Linked DNA regions of Homo sapiens: region 2 is linked to region 1. The links are contacts of gene promoters, found by promoter capture Hi-C in blood cells and fetal thymus (Javierre and others, 2016). All regions are on one chromosome and are shown on one strand. Each heading gives the region's core, a stretch centred on a gene start or on the middle of the fragment in contact. The rest is flanking DNA. Distances are from core to core; before and after follow the strand shown.

The links. Contacts are between HindIII fragments. The CHiCAGO score rates a contact against its expected background, and 5 or more counts as called.
Region 2: a contact is called between a fragment that was not itself captured here and the fragment with the promoter of NIFK in region 1, in 1 of 17 cell types (fetal thymus). The highest score is 5.3, in fetal thymus.

Annotation. Positions count from the first base shown.
Region 1 is chr2:121,732,850-121,740,524 of GRCh38, reverse strand. NIFK (nucleolar protein interacting with the FHA domain of MKI67) reads left to right here and starts at 3,650. Exons shown (of 7, transcript NM_032390.5): 1 at 3,650-3,779; 2 at 4,775-4,912. The coding sequence starts at 3,675. RefSeq lists a silencer at 3,164-3,613 and an enhancer at 3,714-3,763. The HindIII fragment of the contact is 3,379 bases long and covers 572-3,950 here.
Region 2 is chr2:152,711,256-152,718,930 of GRCh38, reverse strand. PRPF40A (pre-mRNA processing factor 40A) reads left to right here and starts at 1,470. Exons shown (of 26, transcript NM_001365597.4): 1 at 1,470-1,701; 2 at 2,805-2,936. The coding sequence starts at 1,492. ARL6IP6 (ARF like GTPase 6 interacting protein 6) reads right to left here and starts at 311. Exons shown (of 4, transcript NM_152522.7): 1 at 1-311. The coding sequence starts at 306. RefSeq lists enhancers at 51-100, 141-340, 571-660, 217-922, 1,471-1,770 and 1 more and a silencer at 971-1,070. The HindIII fragment of the contact is 745 bases long and covers 1,766-2,510 here.

The sequences.
Region 1 (7,675 bases), core at 2,401-4,900:
TCTTCTCATAGGACACTAGTCACGGTTTACAGCTAACGCAAACCCAACAGGACCTCATCTTTGTTTTGTTTTGTTTTGAGACAGAATCTTGCTCTGTCGCCAGGCTGGAGTACAATGGCACAATCTCGGCTCACTGCAACCTCTGCCTCCCAGGTTCAAGCGGTTCTCCCACCGCAGCCTCCCGAGTAGCTGGGATTACAGGCACATGCCACCACGCTTGGCTAATTTTTGTATTTTTAGTAGAGACAGAGTTTCACCATGTTGGCCAGGCTAGTCTCGAACTCTTGACCTCAAGTGATCTGCCCGCCTCAGCCTCCAAAAGTGCTGGGATTACAGGCGTGAGCCACCGTGCCCGGTCATGACCTCATCTTAATGTGATTCCATCCTCAAAGACTCTCCAAGTACAGTCTCATTCACATGTACCCATGTACCAGCGATTAGGACTTGAACAAATCTTTTGAGGGTGACAGAATACATTCTGTCCCAGAATTCTGACCCAGTAATCAATGCCACAAATCTCTATTCCTGCTTCGGAGTGTGGTCTATGGAGTATCGGCCTCTTCTGGAAGCTTGTTAGGAACACAGAACCTGGGCCACCTCAGACCTACTGAATCAGCACCTGCCTGGTGCAGGCAATCCACATGCTCATTCAAGTTTGAGAAGCCTTGGATCACTACCCCCCTGGGGGGATGTAAGGCAAGACCAGGAACTCATAGAGGTGGAGGTGACTGGGAATACCTGAAAAAGGATTTCCATAGAGAAGTGCTTGCCGTCATTCCTTCCTGTATCCTCATCTCCCCTAAGTAGCTATGAGACATGTCAAGATTCCACCTTCAGGAAGGAGGGGAGTGTTCACACACACACACACACACACACACGCACACACACACGAGGACACGGATGGTACCTTCAGGGAACCAGTGAACTTATCTACATCCTCTGGAATTTGGGGGATACAGGGATTGTACCTGGTTTATACACCAACATCTGTGATGCCAGCCAGGAGGCCTGCCTGGCAGCAATCCCATGGCAGTGACAGACAAAACATGTGGCCCTTCTTAAAGGATCAGGATGATAAAGTCCACTTGGAAAGGCCCTTCCAGGAGGAGCCTCTGGGCACAGAGCTGACCTCGGCTGGCAGGCAGGTAGAGTCATGAGCAGCCAGGTGAGGGACACCTCAAAAGTGTGCTTGGAGACAAGGTGCCAGCAACCTGGCATTTGCAGCCTCTAAAACTCCCTGGCCACGTGGCACCTGCCAGCAAGGAGCCCCTTTCTGCTTTCTCCTCCCTCTCTTCCCTGTCCTAATCCTGGAAAGCCCAAAAACAGAAACTGGGGTGTACAGAGAAAGTGGAGCCAAGAATAAAGACGATGTGGACTGTGCTCCCCTTTGGGGATTTCTCTGCCAGAGACACTGAGCTGGGGAGAGGAGACATTTGATATTAGATTTTGAACGCGTGGAACATGCTTCTATTGACTGACATCTGAGGAGCAATCACAAGTGCGGAGCTCTCCCCAAGATTTCATCCTGGGGGGAGCAAGAACAAGCCCATGGAAAGGGGCAGCCCTGAAAAAGAATCAAATTGCTCTTGCTCGCTCACTCCCGAAAATCCAGCCTACCCATGAAAACACAATGGGAAGACAGCGCTTAACTGGAAGAACTGACTTTGCTACAGGGTCAGGGATGCCCCCTTGGGGGTGACGGTGGCGCTGAGCCGGAGGGTGCAGGGGTGAAGGAGGCGAAGACTGTGAGCGTGGGAGGCACGTCTGTCAGAGGAAGTGGGCTGGCCTCGCTTGGCACTCCCTCCCAGGGCCTCCACCTCAGGCCCACAGGCCACTCTTCGGGCACACACACCCTGGGCCGCCTTCACGGCTTCCAGAACACGGCCGCAGCTATCCCCTGACACCAGCTGTGCTTGATCTGTCGCTCTCGCCTCACCTCCCTGCTTCCTCGGCAATCCACTCCCCACCCTTCCTCTCCACTCAGTTACTCACTAGTATAATAGTATTTGAAAGGTACAAACAGGCCGGGTGCGGTGGCTCACGCCTGTAATCCCAGCACTTTGGGAGGCCGAGGCGGGTAGATCACTTAAGGTCAGGGGTTCTCGACCAGCCTGGCCAAAATGGCGAAACCTCGTTTCTACTAAAAATACAAAAATTAGCCGGGAGTAGTGGTGTGCACCTGTAGTCCCAGCTAGTCGGGAGGCTGAGGAAGGAGAATTGCTTGAACCCAGGAGGCGGAGGTTGCAGTGAGTGAGCCAAAATCGCGCCACTGCACTCCAGCCTGGACGACAGAACGAGACTCCGTCTCAAAAAAAAAAAAAGAAAAGAAAGATGCAAACAGCCACAGCCTCGCTTTAAACCCGCCCATCCCCTCGCATTTACAAAACCCCAGTTTCATACTTTGACACACAGTCATGGGGCTCCAGCCTGCCGCCTCGCAGCTCTTCCCTCCTGTGCTGGGCTCCAACCCCACTGCCGCGTCCTTCTTTCTAGACCTAGGAACACTGTGCAGGCCTGTCCGGTCCAGCGGACGGCAGGCGCTCGGTTCTCCACACCCCGCTCTTTAGCCTTCAGGCCTCGGTGCTAACGCCACCTCCTAAGGGGGACCCTCCGGCGCCACCCAGTGTGCCTCTCCCCCACAAGCCTCTTTGGTCTCTTAAAGCAGCCATGCTGCCCTCAGGCTGTAAGTTCTCCAAGGGCCGCGGACGGACGGGGCCACACAGGAGAGCTCACACACAAGTGAGTGAAAGAATAACCAAATTAGGGCCGGGCGCGGTGGCTCACGCCTGTTATCCCAGTACTTTGGGAGGCTGAGGCGGGTGGATCACCTGAGGTCAGGAGTTCGAGACCAGCCTGGCCAACATGGTGAAACCCCGTTTCTACTAAACATACAAATTAAGCTGGGAGTGGTAACGTACAAATTAAGCTGGGAGTGGTGGCGGGCGCCTGTAATCAGCTACTCGGAAGACTGAGGCAGGAGAATCGCTTGAACCCGGGAGGCGGAAGTTGGAAGTTGCAGTGAGCCGAGATTGCGCCATTGCACTCCAGCCTGGGCAACCAAAGCGAAACTCTGTCTCAAAAAAAAATAATAATAATAATAAGCAAATTGAGGAATGAGAGCAGCATCTCAAGGACACAGGTACTGTTTTGGAATTTATTTTAGACCTTTTTTGAAAGTAGGCGTGAACGTAATTGTTTCAGGCACTCTTAAGCGAAGCCAGCCGGCGCCCCGACAGCCGAGGGTGCGGGAGCTCCCCACGGCCCAGCCCCAGCCCCAGACCCCGCTGCCGCGCCTCGGCACGCCCCTGCGCCCCGCCTCCGCGCCTCGGCGCTACTCACGCCCCGCCCTCCGCTCCTCGTCACGCCCCATGTCGCGCCTCCGCGCGACTCACGCCTCTCCCAGTCTCTCGGCACGACCTCGTGCCCCGCCCTCGCCCCTGGCGCAATTTATGCCCCGCCCCGCGCCTCGCCACACCCCGTGCCCCGCCCCCGCTTCTCCGGGCAACTCCTGCTCCAACCCCGCGCCCGACTCATGGCCCTCCCCGCCCCTCGCCACGCCTCGCCTCGCCTTAGCGCTTCGCCCCGCCCCTGTCCTGCCTCTACTTCCGCCTCGGGGGAGCTGGGAGCCCGACGTTTCCGGGAGCGCCGCGTGGTTAGCGTCGGCGGCTTTTGGCATGGCGACTTTTTCTGGCCCGGCTGGGCCAATCCTGTCGCTTAATCCGCAGGAAGATGTCGAGTTTCAAAAGGAGGTGGCGCAGGTTCGCAAGCGCATAACCCAGGTGAGCAGGCACCCTGGCCCAGGCTGCGAGCGGGGGCGATGGACCGGGTCTAGAGGGTATCTGGGGTTGCACGGTTTCCGGCCCGGGCGCCCCTTGCCTTCGTGCTCGCCTTCATTACCTCCAGGGTCTCCCAAGTGGATTCGACCGAATCAGGGACCGACCTCTTAAGCTTGCAGGCCACGGTTTCCGAGACGAAAGGGTTTACGCTGTTCGGTAAATGATGGAGGGGTTTGGCCGCTGAGGCCCTGGAGCCTTCATGTGGAGGGTAACGGGGAAGTATTGGGGTGACAGAAGCAGTAGAAAGAACCAGCTGGAGGGAATAGGCTCCTATACCACAGGTTATCTCCGGGTTAGAGCTGTCACGCTTCCGCGTTTCCCCCAAAAATGGGAGCCCCAGACTTAACACATTCGGGAAGTTTGTATGCCGGGTTGGTGATCTGGGAGTTATTAAAATAGAGTATTTGCCAGGTTCCACTTGCTGACTAGGGCCCCTGACATCGCTTATACTTTCTGTGGTTTTTAGCATAAAATACACAGGAAAACTTAGAAGTTCCTGTTACAGAGGTAAGGCTATGATGACTGAGACGTTGAAAGGCTAATCTGTACCGTGAGAGTTAACAAGCGTATCGAAAATTTTTCGATGAAGTGCGAGTAAACAGTAATATGCATACCAAATTGAAGCCTACGTTTATGTAGAGTTCTCTGGGCAGAAGATCTAAAATGGCTTGTTCAAAGATGTCCTTGCTTATCCGTTGATTGACATAGTTATTGAGCTCTAATATTATACTGGGTGCTGGGATGCCAGGCTGGAAAGATAGTTGACTACTGCTTGACCATGGCCTTTGTGGGGAGAGAAACACTAAACAGCCAGTTCTTTAATTACTACTGTGGTAAGTGGAAATGCAGAATAGGTTCTTGGGCCGAGGGCTAGGGGTTTTGTTACAATGTGATTTTCTTATTTATATATTTAATTTACCTGGTCTTTACGTCTTTAGCGAAAAAAACAAGAACAACTTACTCCTGGAGTAGTCTATGTGCGCCACCTACCTAACCTACTTGACGAAACCCAGATCTTTTCATATTTCTCCCAGTTTGGCACTGTGACACGGTTCAGGCTGTCCAGAAGTAAAAGGGTAAGATTTTTGCAGTTGGATTTAATGTTTTGTTTTTCAAATGTGTATTATCCTTGACATTAAAGAGCACGTTCACGCATACATTATTGCTTATCAGATTTCATTCCAAAAAGGAGAGTGGAGGAGGTTTAGAATCTGAAACAGCTACAGGAGCAAAATCAGTATTATTGTAAAAGTTTGTTTTTTACATTTCTCCAAATCCTTACATTAAATTGACAGTCCTGGTAAATGAGCTTTAGTATGAGGCCCAGGTTTATACATTTTCTTGTGTTAGCCTTTGGTACAAGCATCCTTATAATAGCAAAGGTTTATATAGTGAATAGTTAAAGGTGAGGACTCTGGAGTTGGACTGCTGAGGTTTGGGGTCAGGCTCTACACCTTACTAGTTAGAGTGATATGACCTTACCATGTTTCAGTGTTGTGATCTGTTAAATATAAGTAAAACTTCCTGGGAGTATTTAGTCAAAGGTTAAATATAAAGTCTTTAGAGGATTGCTTGGTACACAATAAACACTATATAAGTATAATTACTATTTGTGTCATACCTGCCTTCTAATGAGAAAACGCTTTACATAGCTTGTTTCAATAGTGGAGGAGTGACCCACTTTCTTTTCTTTCCCCGCACATAAACTTTAATTGGTTGTAGCCATAGACACCTATTTGATTTAGCATGTGGGGGATAGGGTGCACATCCATCATCTGTTAGTTGTCGTAAAGATAGATTGTAGGTAGAATTGAGGTCCCTTTTGTACCCTTCCCAGTGCTCTTCAACTTCTTTAATTAGGGAATTAAATTCACAAATTCAGTTTTCTTTTTTTTGAGACTGAGGCTTGCACTGTCGCCCGGGCTGGAGTGCAGTGGTACAATCTCAGCTCACTGCAACCTCCGCTTCCCGGGTTCAAGCAATTCTCCTTGCGTCACCTTCCCAAGTAGCTGGGATTACAGGCGCCTGCCACCATGCCTGGCTAATTTTTTGTGTGTTTTACTAGAGACGGGGTTTCACTATGTTGGCCAGGCTGGTCTCGAACTCCTGACCTTGTGATCCTCCCGCCTCGGCCTCCCAAAGTGCTGAGATTACAGGCGTGAGCCAGTGCGCCCGGCCACAAATTCAGTTTTCATTGCTATATATAAGTTTTTACTATATATATATGTACTAGAATACATATGTGTACATATATAAATGTACATATGGTATTATTTTAAAATTATATTACTCTATCATTCTTCAGCTGAATTTTTGTATTCAATAATCTGAGCTTTATCCATGTAACTCTATTGCCTTTGTTATCATCATTGCTCATTACTTAGGTTACTAAAGTTTATCCACCCTCCTATTGAACATTAGGTTTTGTTTTGGGGGGCGATCTCGGCTCACTGCAACCTCTGCCTCCCAGATTCAAGTGATTCTCTTTCCTCACCCTCCTGAGTGGCTGGGATTACAGGTACCGGCCACTGCACCTGGCTAATTTTTGTATTTTTAGTAGAAACAGTGTTTCTACTAAACACTGTTTTGGCCAGGCTGGTCTCAAACTCCTGACCTCAGATGATCCGCCCACCTCGGCCTCCCAAGGTACTGGGATTACAAGCATGAGCGAGCCACTGTGCCCAGCCCGAACATTAGGTTTTTTAATATTTTTAACTCTTTAGATTAAGCTGCTAGGAACAATCTTTGTACAGGTATAGGCAGAATTTTCTAGAAGAGTATTTTGCAGACTTTGGCTCACAATAAGAGGTAAGTTTTTACCATCACAAAGAAGATGAGGGTTTTAAAAAAAGTTTTACAGCACAAACCAGCACACATACATATGCATGTAAGCATAACTGAAATAAAAGCCAAATGAGACAATATTTAAACTTGTTTTGTGTGATGCGCTGATTTTCTATTTCATTCTATTCATTTTTTTTTTGTTTTGTTTTGGTTTTGTTTTGTTTGCGACGGAGTCTCACTCTGTCGCCCGGGCTGGAGTGCAGTGGCACAGTTCCTCAGCTGACTGCGATGTCCGCCTCCCGGATTCAAGTGATTCTCCTGCCCCAGCCTCCCGAGTAGCTGGGATTATAGGTGCCTGCCACCATGCCTGGCTAATTTTTTTTTTTTTTTTAAATGGAGTCTCACTCTGTTGCCCAGGCTGGAGTGCAGTGGCACAGTCTTGGCTCACTGCACCCTCAGCCTCTCGGATTCAAGTGATTCTCCTGCCTCAGCCTCCTGAATAGCTGGGATTATAGGCGTGCACCACCACACCCAGCTAATTTTTGTATTTTTAGTAGAGATGGGGTTTCACCATATTGGTCAGGATGATTTTGAGCTCCCAATCTCAGGTGATCCACCTGCCTCGGCCTCCCAAAGTGTGGGGATTACAGGTGTGAGCCACTGTGCCCGGCCTAATTTTTGTATTTTTAGTAGAGACACGGTTTCACCATTTTGGCCAGGCTGGTCTCGAACTCCTGACCTCAGGTGATCCACCCACCTCGGCCTCCTGGAGTGCTGGGATTACAGGCATGAGCCACCCCTCTTGGCCTAGTTTTTCTTTTTTGAGATGGAGTCTTATTCTGTTGCCCAGGCTGGAGTGCAGTGGCGCGATCTCAGCTCACTACAACCTCTGCCTCTCAGGTTCAAGTGATTCTTCTGGCTCAGCCTCCTGAGTAGCTGGGATTACAGGTACATGTCACCATGCCCAGCTAATTTTTTGTATTTTTAGTAGAGATGGGGTTTCACCATGTTGGCCAGGCTGGTCTCAAACCCCTGACCTTGAGATCCACCCTCCT
Region 2 (7,675 bases), core at 889-3,388, about 31 Mb before region 1:
CCGAGGCTGGGCTCTGCTGCCCGCGGCCGCGGGAAAGATACCATTGCGCTTATCGGGCAGAACGGGCGACCCGTTCCCGTCCGGCGGGAGCACCGAGCGCTTTCTGGGCTCTGACCACGCCCCAGCCGAGAACTCCGCCCGCAGGTCGCGGGCCACTTGGTCGCATCCCTCCTCCTCGTCGACTTCGCCTTCACCCCAGCTGTCCCCCTGAGTAAAGGAGGAATACGATGGCCGAGCCACAGGGCCCGGGGTGCCGGGACCGCGGCGCCGCAGAGCCGACCGCCACCCGCTCTCAGCAAACGACATGGCGCGAAACACAACGAAACCCGCGGAGAACGAGCCTCTCCCACCTGCCCCGCCCCGGGTCCGCAACAGCCAATCCGCGGCAGTGGCCGCTACCACCAGGCCTCAGAGCCCAGGGGTAAACCACGGAGAGCAAGGGTGGGCGGCGGGTTGCAAAGGAAGCCGCAGGGCCAAAGGAGAGGCGGAATGCGCTTCGACCAGAGCTCGACCCCAGGGCTGTAGCCGGAAAGGGGAGCAGGAAAGCGCGCAGGGAGAAGCGAGCGGAGGCCGAAGGCTGTCGAGTATCCACTCCCTGCGGGGCTTCGTCCCGGCCGGAGACCTCCGCCACCCCCGCGTCACCAACGGGAGCGCGCGCCCCGACAGCCCCAAAGCCTCATCTTTTCGACGCCGGGTCCTAGCGCCCGCTCGCGCCCTCGGAGACACATTCCCGAACCTATTTGTCTTCTCCCTTCTTCCCCACTACGCTCACACTCTTCTCCAGGTTCCCCCATTAAGGGCACCTCTCTACCTGGCGCTCTCGCGGTTCCTTAACTGCTCACCCCCATCTCCCTTTAGTGTGGTTCTCCCCACCCGTACTACAACTTCCCTCCCGCTACTCGACACGCCTCCTTCCCCAGGCGCGCGCTCTCCACCTGGTGCGTACGGAGATCGAACCCTCTCCTCCGAACCCCTCCTTTCGCCTTCCCCGCCTCCTCCCCTCCGCCTCGAGCACCGCGCGCGCGCATTCGGTCCCAGCCACCGCTAACACTACAGGCTGCTTACCCCCGCCCCCTCCACCCTACCCCTGGCGGCCTCAGGTTTGTGGGGCGTACGTAACTCGGGCGGGGAGGGTGAAGGTGGCAGACCCCCACTGCCCCACCCCCTACGGGGTGAGGCGGTCTAAGCTCGGGAAGCTGGGACACTGTTGTCTTCCCTTCCCCTGGGGAAGTTGGTAGAGTTTTCCCGACGGAGGACTCGGCGCAGAAACTTCCTCCGTCCTCCTCCTCCCCCCCCCCCATGCAGGCGACGCCGAGTGAGGCTGAGGCTGGGGGCGAATCGCCGCAGAGCTGCGTGTCGGCGGCGCATTCTGATTGGACAGCGGGGAAGCCCGTCAGCCTGTTGGCCCCGCTGATCCCGCCCCGTAGCGCAGGGCAGCCTTTAACCTTTAGCCCCAGTGGGCGCCAGCCACTCAGATCGCTTCTTGTTGGTATGTGTAGCGGCAGTGGCCGCCGGCGGAGCAGTCTGAGCCCGACGATGAGGCCGGGGACGGGAGCTGAGCGTGGAGGCCTCATGGTGAGTGAAATGGAGAGCCATCCTCCCTCGCAGGGTCCTGGGGACGGGGAGCGGAGATTGTCCGGCTCAAGCCTCTGCTCCGGCTCTTGGGTCTCTGCTGACGGCTTCCTGAGGAGACGGCCCTCGGTAAGGGATCAGTGGGGCAGGGGGAAGGCGGCACAATGAAAAACGGAGTGAGAAACAGGAAGCTTTCTCCGAAAGGAGAAGAAGATAAGAGTGGACGAAGGAAGAACTCGAGATGGTGGGATATGTTCTGAGGGAGAGAAGTGGAGGGTGGAAATGCACAAAGAGAAGGATGTGAGACCCTGGAAGTTCCCCGTGGGCTTGGCCTAGACAGATGCGTGGTGAAGGTGCTGGCTCTTGGGCGGGGTGAGCGTCTTGGAGCTTTAGGCCCGATTTTAGCTGGGAGGGGGAGGCAGGGGCTTGATACTGTAAGACTTTAACAGCGGCTGCCAAAATTTGTTTTCATTAGTCGTCGGGGTGGTCTGCAGGGGGAACTGTTGGGACAATTGGCAGGAGATAATTAGGTGGTTTTAATTTAAAACATAGAACAATGGACTCATCGGTAAAGAAAGTAGTTGTCTTTTTAAACTGCGTTAAAAAGGATGAATTAGTTGTTTGCATTTAGTGTCCGTGAGTGACAGAACCTCAGTCTTTGAAAATGTATTTTTGGCAGAAGGAATTTTACCTGTCTTAAAGGTTATGTTAGGAAATAAGTTTGTTAGGAGTGAATTGTGCCTGGGTAGCCATACTGTTTGTGTTTTGTAAGACCGACTCTCACCTGAGTTAATTGGATAGAGCATTTTAAAGTTTAAAATCAGTAGTGTTATAAAATAACAATAGCTGGCTATCTTTTATATCTGCATGAAATAGGAGAGTTGTTGTTTTCACCATAACAGTTTTAAAATTAGTATTCAATGTGTATCCTCCAAGCTTAGCAAGCCAATTAGTAGCTGGTTAAGTCAGTGCTTAAAAAAAAGAGAGAGAAAACCTATGATCCAGCGGTCCAGGATTCATCTTAACTTTTCCCATTTTTTTACGGAATTTGCAAGCTCGTTTTAAATACTAGCAGAATGCGTTTTGTTTGAAACAAGGTATAGACTAATCCAATGATGTTATTACACATAAGCTTAATATTATGTCGCTTCAGATAACTGATCTGTTGAAATGAGATTTTTGAGAAGCATTTAGTATTATTTGCTCATTTAAAAATGTTCACTGTTTTTCAGATGGGGCACCCTGGCATGCATTATGCCCCAATGGGAATGCACCCTATGGGTCAGAGAGCGAATATGCCTCCTGTACCTCATGGAATGATGCCGCAGATGATGCCCCCTATGGGAGGGCCACCAATGGGACAAGTAAGACTGTTTTTGTTTTATTTTGCATTTATTTATTTGTTTTTGCCTCAGGTATTCTATCAAGATTTCAGAATCTAGGTCAGTAGTTATAGCTGTTTAATGATTAGTTTATGCCCGAATAATTTCAAATAAGCCAAATGTTAAATCATGACTGTAACGGAAATTTGAATAATGGAAAAGTCTTCTGAGAAATTTAAATAATGAAAAAGTCTTCTGAGAAATTTACTGATGACCTCAAAACTAAGAATTTTTTTCTTTATTATTTAAAAGTAAAGTGTGGATCCAGGCTTTTATTTTTAATGATTATTTTTTCAAGAATGCCAATTGAAGTTGATGGTCTAAGTAAATATTATCTGATACAGCAACATAACTGATTTTGGTAGACCATGTAAATAAATAGAATCTGAAAATAGCTATTGTTTTGGTTTAGAGCGAATTTTATTCCTGAAATATCTTCCTCTTTGTGTGTTGGAGGAGGGTGAGGGAGGGTGGGGAGTTTGTGCTCTATAATTCTGATTCTTCATAGGACAGTGCCAATAGGTAGTTCATTTTCCACTTATACTATTTTTTTTTAATGCTTGTTGCTTCTACACTCCTGCTTATGAGCTGTCCCTTCCATCTCTAGCATAAATTGTAAATGGACATTTTGTAGGAGTGATTTGGATCAAAAGGTTTTAATGCTGATTCAGTGATTTCGGTAGAACTGAGTTTCTAGAGAAGCATCCAAGAAAGGTAACAGGTTCAGTTACCATGAGTAATTTTGTGCTTCATGTTAAGTTCTATAATAGATCTTTAGGTGGCTGGGTTATTTCCATTTGAGTATTTCCATAAATCATCAAAAATTTAGGCTAACAAAATATTTTGGAAGCCAATTTCATGTGATCTTTTGCTAATTAGTACTGTTTGATAATTGTTTAAGCTTTCATGGTTAAAGTTATTGGTGAAATTGCAGTGGGAAAAGGAGCTTGCTATGTGTCTGTCTCTTTTTACTTAACCTTAAGAGTAGAAGGGCTTAATGTCCAGTGATTTTCCTCTTTTTTTTTTTAATTTGGAATATTGCCCTTAATTTTGTTAAAAAACAAAACAAAACCTTTATTCAAAGGCACCAGCCCCAAAAGATTCTGCTTGCAGGAGTTCTTTAAATAAAAGAGCCTTTTATTCTGTTACTCTAGAATAACACAAATTTTAAAACTCTCTAGGTGATGGAGAAACAACTTTGATTCCTCTTCTGTTTCTTTCCATCTCTAAGGAGCAAGGAGCTCTTCTTGTTTTCTTGGTAGAGCTGCTCTAACTAGATAATGAGCTTTAAAAATATTTATTCTTTAAATGCTCTGGTTCTTATTTAAAATTAGTTTCTTTCCACAGAAAGATAAAATAAAACAATTTGCTACTGCCAGATGCTTCTCTCTTTTCTGGGGCCTTCTGTTTCCATTGGGCCAATCAAGGTAAGTTTTGCAAGGGATTGACCTGCTTACCCTTGCTGTAATGGTGCTATTGCACTACCAAAACCAAGATACCAGCTAGTCATAGTTCTAGTTAAAAAAAAAAATGCAGATTTTATTTTTTAAAAGTACTTTCATGTATCTCATTGACATAAGCTGGTCACAGTTTGCTTTATGGCCCTTTCTCTTTAGCTGTATCAGTGACCATCTTTCTAGTAAGTTTACTTGCTACTCGGTACACATCCATTCAAATAACTGATTTTTTTGGTGTGGTTTTCTTCTACTTTTTCCTAGGCTAATATATGCCACGTGCCTTTAAGTAGACCTAATTATTTAGATGTTTAGAATTCTTCTCCCTCTGAAGGCTCCTGTTAGTATAATAAATAAATGTTTTAGTAGGAGTTATGCCCTGAAAGTCCCAAAAGAATCTCCGCTGTTTTTGTCAGAATTATATAATTCCCTTTTATCCCCTTAATATTTCACTAACAAATATGGGTCCCAAATCTTGGTAAAACAAATTCTTGTTTTAGCTTTATAACAGACTGGGAGAGCATGGATAATTTGAATTCTCAAATCAGAAATCATATTTGAAACTCTGTAAACATTGCTTTAAAAATTAAAGGTGATAATAAATAGGACAATTGATCCTTTTTCCTGCATTATTTCTTCTGCCACTCTTGGAAGTACTCAGGAGGAATAAGTGGTCAGAAGATAATTGAGAAGAAGCAGGATGTCTGTCTGTATCATTCACAGTAGTGACAGTTGGGAGGGTTCTGCCATGCAATTTAAAAAAGTCAGTTCACAAATTCTTTAGACTTTGGGACTGAAGGTTATAAAAACCTTCATGTGTTGACTGGTTTGCATGAACATCTCATGCTGGGACTAGCTAAAGACTAAAATTGGTGGCAGTCTTACTTGCCAAATAATTGTGGTCTTTGGAATGTTACCAATATGACATGAAACTGTAAAACTTGTTTGTAAAATAATATGCAGACTGGGTAGCATAATGATGTACGGAAGCCAGGGTTCATAATTTCTCAAATGCATCAAGCTATTTAGCTTAAAGAAGTGGTGTGTTCAAATTTTTTTTTTCTTAATTCATGAGATGACCTAGAGTGCCATCTCATGCATTTAGGCTGACTCTTAGTAGTAATAAATATTTGATGATTATCAAATTGAGCTTAATATTCTTTCAGGTTTATTTCAGTTTTCTATCTTGTAGATTAAATTTGCCTCTTATTCTATATAACTTTATAGGAAAGTCATACTTTTAGAGTTATAGGATCTTATAGCTGAAAGGGACCTTACAGGTTGTTTAAGCTTTAAATAATATGTGATTTAAGATGCTTTGAGGATCACTGGTTAAATGTTAGTAAAGAAAGATAAAGAATTTTCCCTGCTGGATGGCAGTACTCAAAAATTTCCCATTGGGAGGCTGAGGCGGGTGCATCGCTTGAGCTCAGGAGTTGGAGACCAGCCTGGGCAACATGGTGAAACCCCATCTCTACAAAAACTATTTAAAAATAAGCTGGGTGTGGTGGTGTGCGTCTGTCGTCCCAGCTACTTAGGGGGCTGAGGCAGAAGGATTGCTTGAACCTGGGAGGTCGAGGCTGCAGTGAGTCAAGATCACGCCTTGCACTCCATCCTGGGTGACAAAGTGAGACCCTATCTCAAAAAAATAAAGATTTTCTGTAGAGATTTCTATCAATAAAATTATGTGTGAGGCTGTCTTCTTCCTCAGTGTCCATAGTAAATACTGTTTTCATGTCTTTTGTGTTTTCTACACAAAGGACATGCAGGTCCTGCCATCTTTATCACAGATGATTATGCCTTTGCCCCAGAGTCATGCTAGCTGGCTCTTTTTTTTTCCTCCCTATTTGAGTCTTTATTTTCCTCTATCAGTGAGAAGAGTAGAGTAATTGAGTTAAGGTCCCTTTCAGCTCTAACATCCTATGATTCAGTTCAGATCATTTGATAAGAGTAGATATCAGATTTTATGGGATGATATGGAAAGAACAGAAAATTCCTTTAGTAATGCCTCCCTAATTCTATTTATTCAGTGCTTTTTTTTTTTGGTCTTTGGTCAGTAAACTGATAAATGAATAATTGCTTTTTACAAATGAGTTTGATTTTCTTGCTCCTATATTGAGTAAGGCTGGCTCTAATAGATCTTATTTTATTTCAGTTCCTGCTACCACATGAGCCCAAGTCGTCACTCTCCCATGCCTAGGTTATTCAACAGTTTTTGAGTTGAGTTGGTTTTCTTGCTTCAAGGATGCCCCCCTGCCCCCACAAATTTTAGATTTCAATGTGTTATCTCCTTGCCCAAGAATCTCCAGTACTTTCAGTGCCTATAACATAGTATCTAAATTCCACAGCTTAACTTTAAAGAACCTCCCCATAGTACATGTCAAAGCAGGATTCAAGGCTGCATGTCTTTACACTCCCTAATTTGAACTTAGGCTGGTCTTTTCACGGTGTCTTGAGTGATTATATTAGTTCACAACTTCAAACTTAGGCTGTTCTTCTTACCCTCCTGCCCCCAGCTCAGTATCACCATGAAGTTTGCTTTGCTTACCTATGTTGTACTATTTCAAGTCCTGCCTTCTCCAAAAGTTTCTCAAAAATGACTTTTGCCAACATATACCTCCCCTTCAGATTATTAAAGAAAATATTTGTAATCTACCCATAACTCTTACCGTTTCACTTATTTTGGCACCTAGTTATTGACTTGTTTTATGGTTTCTTAATTTGCTTTAATTTTCCAACAAGTAATAGATTGTAAGCTCTTAGAGGGCAGGGGCTATGTTCTGTACTTTTTAAGAAGCCTATAGGTGCTGAGCACAGTTCTTGGCACATCATGGGTGCTCAGTAAAATACTTGTTGAATGAATGAAACAAATACACAGGTATTCTTTCCTGCAGTATAAGCCCATAAGTCAGTCAGTGTTAAATGTGACTGTTTCCAGTGGTTACTTGTGACTTTACGTTGTTACTACTTATTCTTGTTTTTAGTGTCTGCCTCTTTACTCTTACTTTTTCATTTGACAAAAATGGAAGATAAATAAGATGAAATAAATAATTTTTGTTTGGAGAATAAAACTAAAATATTTCCATTTGCAGTCGACCCTCTGTATCCAGAGATTCAAGCAACTGCGATGGAAAATAGTCTTTAAAAAAGCAACAACAAAAAAATACAAATTTTTAAAAATAAAGTATAATAACTTTTATAGCATTTACATTGTGTAAGGTATTATAAGTAATGTAGAGGTAATGTAGAGGAAAAAATAACAAAGTA